Linked DNA regions of Homo sapiens: region 1 is linked to region 2. Evidence: promoter capture Hi-C in 16 types of primary human blood cells and fetal thymus (Javierre and others, 2016). All regions are on one chromosome and are shown on one strand. Each heading gives the region's core, a stretch centred on a gene start or on the middle of the fragment in contact. The rest is flanking DNA. Distances are from core to core; before and after follow the strand shown.

What was found. The method cuts DNA at HindIII sites, captures the fragments that hold promoters and counts their contacts. A CHiCAGO score of 5 or more calls a contact.
Region 1: a contact is called between a fragment that was not itself captured here and the fragment with the promoter of RNF139 in region 2, in 1 of 17 cell types (erythroblasts). The highest score is 5.7, in erythroblasts.

Annotation. Positions count from the first base shown.
Region 1 is chr8:125,008,005-125,012,747 of GRCh38, reverse strand. It overlaps SQLE (squalene epoxidase), which reads right to left. Exons shown (of 11, transcript NM_003129.4): 5 at 3,664-3,777; 6 at 3,405-3,576; 7 at 1,116-1,211. Among named protein-coding and RNA genes, the nearest start is that of SQLE, 12 kb to the right of the region's middle. The HindIII fragment of the contact is 597 bases long and covers 1,150-1,746 here.
Region 2 is chr8:124,471,502-124,476,720 of GRCh38, reverse strand. It overlaps RNF139 (ring finger protein 139), which reads right to left and starts at 1,841. Exons shown (of 2, transcript NM_007218.4): 1 at 1,431-1,841. The coding sequence starts at 1,611. RNF139-DT (RNF139 divergent transcript) reads left to right here and starts at 2,158. Exons shown (of 2, transcript NR_108047.1): 1 at 2,158-2,636. RefSeq lists enhancers at 842-1,385, 1,386-1,931, 1,894-2,223, 1,932-2,476, 2,564-2,753 and 1 more and a silencer at 1,564-1,873. The HindIII fragment of the contact is 6,816 bases long and covers 1-5,219 here.

The DNA of each region.
Region 1 (4,743 bases), core at 199-2,698, 540 kb before region 2:
ATATGTCCACACAAAAACTCGCACACAGATGTTCATAGCAGCATTGCTTGTAATAACCAAAAAGTAGAAACAACCCAAATATCTATCAATTGATGAATGGCTAAACAAAATGTAATATAGCCACACAATGGAAGATTATTTGGCCATAAAAACAAATGAAGAACTGAAACATGCTACAACATGAATGAACCTCAAAAACATTGTGCTAAATGAAAAGCCAGTTCCAAAGGGCTTTACTATACAATGCCTTTAGGAAACATCCCAAATAGACAAATCTAGACACAGAAAGTAAATTAGGGGTAGCCTAGGGCTGAGTGTTGGGAGGAAATGGGGAGTGAATACCAATGGGTACGGGGTTTCTTTGGGCAAGATAAAAATGTTCTAAATTTGATTGTGGTGGTGATGCACACACTGTGAATATACTAAAAAAGTCACTGTACTGTACACTTTAAATGGGCAAACTGATTTGTGAATTATATATCAATAAAGTTAGTAACAAGAAAACACTTCAAATGACTTTCCATTGTCTGTAAGATTAAATGTTAATGGTCTGTCTCCCACTCTGACACCCACCCTATGCTCCTGCCATAGGAAACTGCTTGAGTTCCTTGAAAGTGCCACCATTTCTCATCCTTTGGCAATGTTATTCCATCTACCTAGAAGTTCCTCATCTTAGTGTCCACCTCATGAACTCCCACTCATCCTCCAGGTCCAAGGTCCTTTGTTTCCACTGTTTCCTGAACAACGTCCTCCCTAACTACCCCTCCCATTTCACAAGCTTCCCTCCCTGCTCTGCACACTTCTTGACACTGAATCTGTGGGTTTTATTTATCAACAGTGTTGTAAAATTATCTGTCTACATTCCTAAGTAGAAAATTGCCTTCTCTAGGTCAAGGTCAGTTTTTTACCTGTTGTTTCCCTGACTAGCACAATACTTGTATACACTCAATGTTAACAACTAAATAGATCATAAAACTAATTTTGGTATTAATAATGCACTAATCCACAGTGACAAACTATCTGTCCCAGAAGTTATTCGTAACAGTATAAATTTAATCATATATTTGTCATTTGGAATACTGATTCCTTTATAAAATAAGCCCAAAAAATAATACCTCGTTTCTTCACTGATGAAGGAGGAAGGAAGCTTGCTGGCATGGACCTCAGATGAGAATTGTCAGTGGCTTCTAAGAATGGTTCTTTCAGGTGATCTGCAATAAATCCCACCAACCCAAAGAAATGGGTCATAACACTTCAATTTCAAAGTATCACATATTTTCTTATCAAGTATAAACAAATGCCTACTATACATCTGTTATGGTTGTTACATATATCCCTTGTGATAAATCAAGAACTAATTATTTCATTAATAAAATTATTCATTAAGCACTTAGCTGTTAATGCCAAGGAATGACTAAGGAATCTAAGAGAACATTAATATAAACATACATACAACTGAATGAAAAAACAATGAGGCAAATTCAGATGAAATGAAACAGGGAGAAAACCACCTACCTTTCTTCCAAATGTTAACAGACTACTGTCATATTTAATATTTAATGTATTATAATCAATATATTCTTGTAATAATCAGATGAAATACACTACCAATTCACAAACAGCAGGAGGGTATGTACACTAGAAAAGGAATTCGAGGCCAGCCCTACCTCTCTGAGCTTCAATTTCTTCATCTATAAAAATGAAATGGTTTGATCAGCTCATCTCTGAGATACTTCCAAACAAGCTTTAAATTTCTGTGCTACTTATATAGAAAATGAACTGTCATACAATTCCCAGTGTGATCTGGGAATAGAGGAGCAGAAGCCTCTGTTAAAAATTATTCCATTCATATTAAGGAGTAGAATTTTGGTAATCTAACTAATATTAATATAAACCTACCAATGGTTTCTCTCCATAATTTCAGGGCACTCTACTCCAATTAACCTCTGGATTGGAAAAAAGAAAAAAAAAAGAAAAACCACCACATTTACAATAAAAGAAAAATAAATGCTAAAAATATCAGGTAATGGATGACCCTTTTCATAAATATTCATAATTTCCCCATCTGAAAGCTTCAAAAGTGGCTTAACTAAATGAAAATTTATTGAAATGTTTCCATGTACATGTTGAAAATGTCATTATTTAAAATCTAAGTTTGCCCACTTCATTTCACTTCATTTCTGTTAATAATTTGTTACTAAAGTGGTTTCACTTAGTTTAAAAAATAACTTGAAAAAAACGGAATATTTAAACAAAATGTACTCATACCAAAAATAGTTTCCTATTACTCTAATCATATCATAATTGACAATGAGGGTTTCCCTTCAATTTTATCAAAATTCTTAAATTTTTTTTACTTTTCTTTCCTATATCATCCCATTCTCAAAAAAAGATCCTAAAAACTGTACCATGAAAACTTTAGATTTGTGAAAAAGTAATTTTTATTAATGTTTTTACAAAGCTATCTAAATCTCATGAAGCCTTTATATTCAACTCAAAACTAACATGATCCTGAAGATCCCTTACAATTCTCACATTCTGCGGACAGGACATGTCTGTTCAAACAGGCACATATGAGCCAGACAGACCTGATATCAACCCTGGTTCTGCCATTACTAATAGTTTATACTTGGAGGAGCTAACTAATCTCTCTGAACCTTAGTTCTCCCATCTGTAAAATGAGAATAATGATAATGCCTACCTCACAGAGTGGTTACATAGATTAAATGAAATTATGTTTGCTAAACACTTTATAGTAAGCATTCAAGAAATGGTAGCTGTCATTACTACAAAAACCAAGCACAAAAATATTTAGGTATAAGAGATAAAGAATTCAGAGTCAGATTCGTGTCCAGAGACTACCTTTAAAAATACCATATATGCCAATAAAAACAATTATTCTAAAAACTATGCTATTATGTGACAAAAACATATCAAAACTTTTTTTTTTTTTTGAGACGGAGTTTCGCTCTTGTTGCCCAGGCTGGAGTGCAATGGCACGATCTCGGCTCACTACAACCTCTGCCTCCCGTTCAAGCGATTCTTCTGCCTCAGCCTCCTGAGTAGCTGGGATTACAGGCATGCACCACCACACTCGGCTAATTTTGTATTTTTAGTAGAGACGGGGTTTCTCCATGTTGGTCAGGCTGGTCTTGAACTCCCAACCTCAGGTGATCTGCCCACCTCAGCCTCCCAAAGTGGTGGGATTACAGGCATGACCTACTGTGCCCGGCCCGAAACTTTTTTTTATTAATTTGGGAGTTTGTTTTGCTGTTTTTAAGTGCTAGTTTAAATAGTTCAGTTCCAGAATATCTGGTTGACTGGATGAATGTTTCACCTGCCATCCTTATCTCTGGCCTATTTTAGACACAGCCTTTGTAAGAACTGAAGATGCTATTTCTTACCAGGTATTTGTGGGTAAATTTTTTCAACCATGTATTCTCTTAAATTCCTTGGCATTTCTCCTCTAATGTCAACAAGTACTCGAGTTTCACTGGATGAAATCTGGTAGATGAGAACTGGACTCGGGTTAGCTAAAATAAGTTCAGCATGATTTGCTTTAAACTGTGGTGCATTCTAAAACAAATAAAAAGAAAATGTTTTAATAATTTTCAAATTTCAAGTTTCTTTTATTGAAATTACAATAACACACTCCTACAGTACCTTCATAAGAAAGCCAACAAAATGAGATGATACAGAAACTTTATTGGAGACCAGGCTTTTCCTGAACTTGGAGAAAAGCCCATCTGCAACAACAGTCAGTGGAGCATGGAGTTCCTATAACAGAAATGAAGACTACTCAGTTTAGTAGTCAGAAACACACAGTAAAAAAAGCCATTCTTAAAAAATGTGCGTGAAGAGATTTAGATATATTATCAGATAGCATTATAGAGAGTAGTTGAAGATAATACTATTGAAGAAACTGTTACGTGGGCTTCAGATAACGCATGACCAGTGTTTAGATACTTCCTCTGAGTCCCTGAGGATCATCTCCCTTTGTAGCCCTCCCATGCAAACCATCTGGGATTACTCTCCACTTTGACAGACAATGGGGGAAACAACTACAAGGCAGGCATGTAACACAGAGCAGTCAATCTCATTACAAATTCAAGGGACTAGCCAGATTCTTTCATTCTAAAATTTCCTAACTTCATATAGTGCTTTTAGTCAGCAGCTAGGGCTTAGAAGAATTTTTGTACAAATGACTACATGTATTTATAATACTACAGTATGAGCAGAGAAAACATTCCAGTCACCTTCATTAGAGGACAATTTCTAAGAGGTGGTAACCCTATGGGGAGCAGTCCAGAATTACATGTTTTTTACTACGATAATTTTTTTTTAAAAAAAGGAAAAATTGGCCGGGTGCGGTGGCTCACGCCTGTAATCCCAGCACTTTGGGAGGCTGAGGTGGGCAGATCACCTGAGGCTGGAAGTTCAAGAGCAGCCTGACCAACATGGAGAAACCCCGTCTCTATTAAAAATACAAAATTAGCCGGATGCGGTGAAGCATGCCTGTAATCCCAGCTACTCAGGAGGCTGAGGCAGGAGAATCGCTTGAACCTGGGAGGTGGAGGTTGCAGTGAGCCGAGATCGCACCATTGCACTCCAGCCTGGGCAACAAGAGTGAAACTCCGTCTCAAAAAATAAAACAAAATAAAATAAAATAAAATAAAAGGATAAATTGTTTTTAAAAAGATTCTCTTACTATTACCTGAGTTAAATTGCTCATTTTATCTGAAT
Region 2 (5,219 bases), core at 592-3,091:
GGATGAACATGCAGAATCCTCTCAAACAGAGCCCAGTTTTTAACACAAATTATGGTGGTGGTATACGTTAGCAGTGGCAAGTAGGAAAGGCTGGAATTAGGTAGCAGGTGGGTTACTGAAGCAGCTTGGGCTGAACATCACGTTTACATCTTTAGTTTTAAGATCTAGCATATGATCATTACTACTGCATTCTGTATCTGGATTGCAGCTGTTAGGGAGGAAAGTAAACCATATTTAATGTCAAAAGATTTTTAAGCTCAGGCTCTGGCAACCACTTAGCGGCAGCCTACCAAGAGCAAAACACTTAACCTCTATGACCCTGTTTCCTGGTTTGTAAAATGACAATACCACCACCCACCTCTGGGGGATGTTTGAAGGTTAGGTTAGATAATACCTACCAGTGAAAATGCTTTGCAAAAGGAAAATACCAGATAAATGTAAAATATGGCTATTTATTGCTAAGAACAAAATTCGGCCTTTATTGCCACTCCTCTTTTGAAGGAATAAAGCAACAGATGGCTTGTAATTCAGAAAGGCTTGGTAAAGACCTCACCATCAGTCTGCCCTCAGCAACACTTCAAAAGCACTAGCCTACTTAAGACCGATCACCAGAATTACCTCATCAACAAAATTTGCCAAGTTACAATTACTTAAAAAATTATTTTACGCATAAATGCATCTCCCTCTGATGATGTAAGTGAAGATGGAAAGGAAGAAATGAAATATAAGATACTTTTAACACTCCATCCATACGAAACAAAGACAATGATTTTCAGAAGTCTCTTTGGCAAATGTCTCATCACTTTTTACAGTCACTTTCAATACCTTCTCGTTTATTCATGGAAAATTTTAGGACTCGATTTAAGCATCGCCGCTTTCATGAGAATTTTTGGTAATGGTTTCAAGGTCTGACATTCAAAACCCTGTCTCCTTCGCTTGGATGTCATTTACTGCAGACACTTCACGATCCTGTGGACCCTCGGGTGCAGCAGAAGTGACAACATACAAGTACTCGGCATTTGGTAATAAAGGGAAACTGAGGCCCACGCCTTGGCAGAAGTCCAAGGTCACACACGACGAGACTGGGATAGCAGAGTTGTTTTTCGAAGGCTGTCGCATAGGACGCGGTAAGCCAGTACTCATTTCCCAAGGCAAACGGGCAAAGAGCTGCATGCTCACACATCCTTACTTTCTCCCCACCTCACTCAGGTACAACACTGAATCCTCGCTAGGGGGACTGCTCCGCTGTCAACTCAGACAAGTATCATCTCCTTCCCCCTCCCAACCCGTAAAGACGACCCTTTGAGGGATGAAACTGTAGTTCCCAAAGACACATACTCGACCCATGGCCTCTGCGCGCCTGCCCGCTCCCCGGGGAACGTCTCGGCCCGCATAGCCGTCCCGGGACGTACGGTACCCTGTTCCCTTACCAAAGAGCCGGAGGAAGATCTGGAGCACGATGCAGAACCGGCTTTGGCTGGAATCCGGGTAGGAGTTGAAGATGGCGTCGATGATGTAAAGGCAGGGCACCCGGAGCGCCACTTCGAGCGCCGCCCAGACCTGCTGATGGGCCATCCGCACCTGCTGCTGCGGGGGCCCCACGGCCGCCATGAGCCGCTGCCACACCAGGGCTCGGTGGGCCGGGCAGGGCCGCGCGGGGCAGGGCCCGGGGCCGCGGCCGGGGGCGGGGGCTAAGGCGGGCAACTCCGCCCCTGCCCTCCTTCCTCTCCTGTCTCTCTCACGGCCAGCCCCGCCGCCCGCTCGCGTCCCTCGAGGTGGAGCAGGCGGCGGAGGCAGCGATGGCCGAGAGGGCGGCGGCGGCGGCTCCCCAGGAGGTCTCTGGGTTTCGGTGTTTCCGGCTGGCTAAGGTCTGACTCCTCCTCCCTCCACTGCCTCCCCCGCCCGCGGAGCCACCATCTTGACCTCGCCCGCTGGCCTCTGCCGTTGCTGCTGTGGCTAGGCCCGGAGGCTGCGCCGTCAGTCAAGCGAACCGCAGAGTCCGCGCCCACTGCCTGCGTCATAATCCAGCGTCATAATCCAGCGCTAGAGACGCTCCCCATGTCGTCATCACCCATGGTTGCCATGGTTTCCGCCCACCTCCTCAGCTTACTCTAGCTTCGTGCCACCCCGTGGCGCATGCGCTTTTCGGTAGCCGCGCTTTCCGGCGTTGGAGTTGCAGCTTCACCCTCGCAGATTCGGCTTAGCGAGCGAGTCGGTGCTTCCGCGGATCAAAATTATTAGCCGTTTTATTAGAGCCCATTAAACGTTGCATAAACATGGTTCAGAGCTGCCTGGGAGAAGAAAAGCCAAAGGATGCCACCCTCTCGATTTATCCCACCCTCGGGAGTCTGAAAGCCGACGCCAGGAGAAATCCCGCGAAGGCCGCCCGGGATCCTGGTAGAGGCGACGCTGTGTGCGTTTATGGAGCGCTTGCGGTGCGTGGCACTAGGCTGGGTGTGGTGGGTGCTGCCGAAAAAAGGGTTCCTCCCATCCATTTGCACGTCACCCTTCCCACCTCCTGCCCAGATGGACAGAAGTGAGGACATTCATCGGCCGCATTTTACTAATGGCAAGGAGATAGCGACTGAAGGGCAAGAACCTAGGGTTTCCTGTCTTTGATATTTCTCATCTTTGAGGTAAGTACACCTGGACAGTCCCTTCCTTCCTCCTCAGGGCTCATGCTTTCTTGCCTATCCGTGTAATTAATATGATCTGGCTATCTTTGTCTTTGTTCCGAAACTTCAGCTGCAAATGAAAGTGTAAGTTAGGTCTGAGTCTGCACTATAGACCTAGCTATCCTAGGTTAAAGGGGATAAAATAGGAATCAAGAAGCCTGGCCCGCTTGGGCTCCCAGCTCAAGTGCATTCTGCAATCCAGTTTATATTAGGCCTCCATGTGGGTGGCTATCCTTTATCAAGATCCCCCCCAGGGGGAGGAGGATTATTAGTCACATTATCAAACTCCCCTCCAACCCCTTTCTCTGCTTAGAGGTATGTGTAATGTGTAGTAGAAAGACCGAATCCCCACCCAAAAGTCCTTACTGCTACTCATGTTTTTAACCTTCTGTTCTTTACCCTACTCCCTAATAATGACCGCCATCATTTATCTACTGCTTAATGGATACTAGGCACTGTGCTAAGGGTTTTATGTTTTACTTCAATCTTTTCATCGGCTTTATTTTGATAGTTTGTTTTATAGAGGAGGAAACAGACTTAGGTAAGTTACAAGATGACAAGGTTACTACCTTGTTCAGTTAGTAGTCAGCAGCTAGTATATCCAAAGATAGTACGAGTCAGAACTAGGATTATAAACTCAGGGCTACCTGAAACTCACAACTTCAGGCATCTTTGATTTCTTCTTTTCACCCACAGCCAATTCTTCAACTAAATTGTATCCATTCTGTTTTCACCGTCTCTTGTACTGGTCTCCTTTCTATTGTAACTGTCATCATCCTAACTCAAGATCCTTCTGTAGCTTTCCCCGGTTATTGGAATATCCTTATTACGACTGCCACCTTTTCTAATCCAGTCTGTTTACTACTGCCGGGTTAATTTCCCCAAACTGCATGTCTGGGGAATAACCTTGTGGTTATGACAGAATTCCCAAAGGAAAGCAAACTTGGCAAGGTGCAAAGACTATGAAGACTTAGAACTTAAGAGTTCTATGGAGATCTTCAGAAATATAAATTAGCTACTCAACATATCTGTTATTCTGCCCTGATTGCACTGTAAAGCAAAAGGAGAGAGGCCATTATGGGGAAAAAGATCCAAAAGGACTCATCTAAAACACAAGTTGGGTAGAGGAGATAGGTGAGTACTATTATATTATGTTCATGGAAAATGAGTTCATGGGCTTTCCTCTAATTTTTATTTTAAAAATAAATGTAAATATTAAATAAAATTTTTTAAATGAACAAATGCTTCAGTCTTTATTAATGTTTTAACTGTCCCTGATCTTAATTTGATGTACAAATTTTATTAGTGTAAGAGTTTCTTTGACTAAATTCCATCTTGGGCCGAGAACTTTCAGGAGCGGTGGCAGTCTTTTTTTTTTTTCACACAGCTTCTCCAAGCAGGCTCTCTGCCAAACTTGTCCAACCCACCTTATTTTGTTACTGTTGTTGTTCTGTTTTGTTTTAGGCTGTTAACAGCCTGAAGCCATGGTTTTTAGTTTCTGTTTCTAGTGATAAGCGGAAAAGAGAGATGAGGAGGTATTTACTGACCCAACCAGAAGCGGAAACTAAGAACCCATGACTGTATTATCTCCCTTGGACACCCCTGTGTGAGCTCTCTTTCTCCATCTATAAAATGAAGGTTTGAATGAGGTCCTGGCAACTGTGTTAAAATACTACGTTAAAATTAAATTTATAGTAATGAGGTAATTTATAGGATGCTTAGGAATTTTTAAGATAAAAGATGTTTCCAGCTGGGTGTGGTGGCTTATGCCTGAAATCCCGGCACTTTGGGAGGCCAAGGAGGGTGGATTGCTTGAGCCAGAAGTTCAAGACGAGCCTGTCCAACAAGGCAAAACTATATCTTTACAAAAAAATTGTAAAAATAGCTGGATGTGGGCTGGGCGCGGTGGCTCACACCTGTAATTCCAGCACTTTGAGAGGCCGAGGCGGGCGGATCACAAGGTCAGGAGTTCGAGATCAGCCTGGCCGACATGGTAAAACCCCCATGTCTATTAAATATACAAAAATTAGCCGGGTGTGATGGTGGGCACCTGTAATCCCAACTACTTGGGAGGCTGAGGCAGGAGAATTGCTTAAACCCGAGAGGCGGAGGTTGCAGTGAGCCAGGATGGCGCCACTGCACTGCAGCCTGGGTGACAGAGTGAGACTCTGTCTTGGGGGAAAAAAAAATAGCTGGGCATGGTGGCATAGGCCTGTGGTACCAGCTGCTCAGGAGGCTGAGGTGGGAGGATCACTTGAGCCTGCCTTGAGCCTGGGTAGCAGAGGTTGCAGTGAGCCAAGATCACGCCACTGTACTCTAGCCTGGGTGACAGAGTGAGACCCTGTCTCAAAAAAAAGGTAATGTTTCCAAGAAATAGCTACAATTCACTGAATCTAATCTTTGCTTGATTTCTGCATTGATTTGAATGTTGCACAACTCAGGTGTACATTTATATTGAGTCTGCACAGTGTGGTTCATGAGTGTGTGTGTGTGTGTGTGTGAATACACACACACACAAACTGTATACATAGAATACTCGTGTTT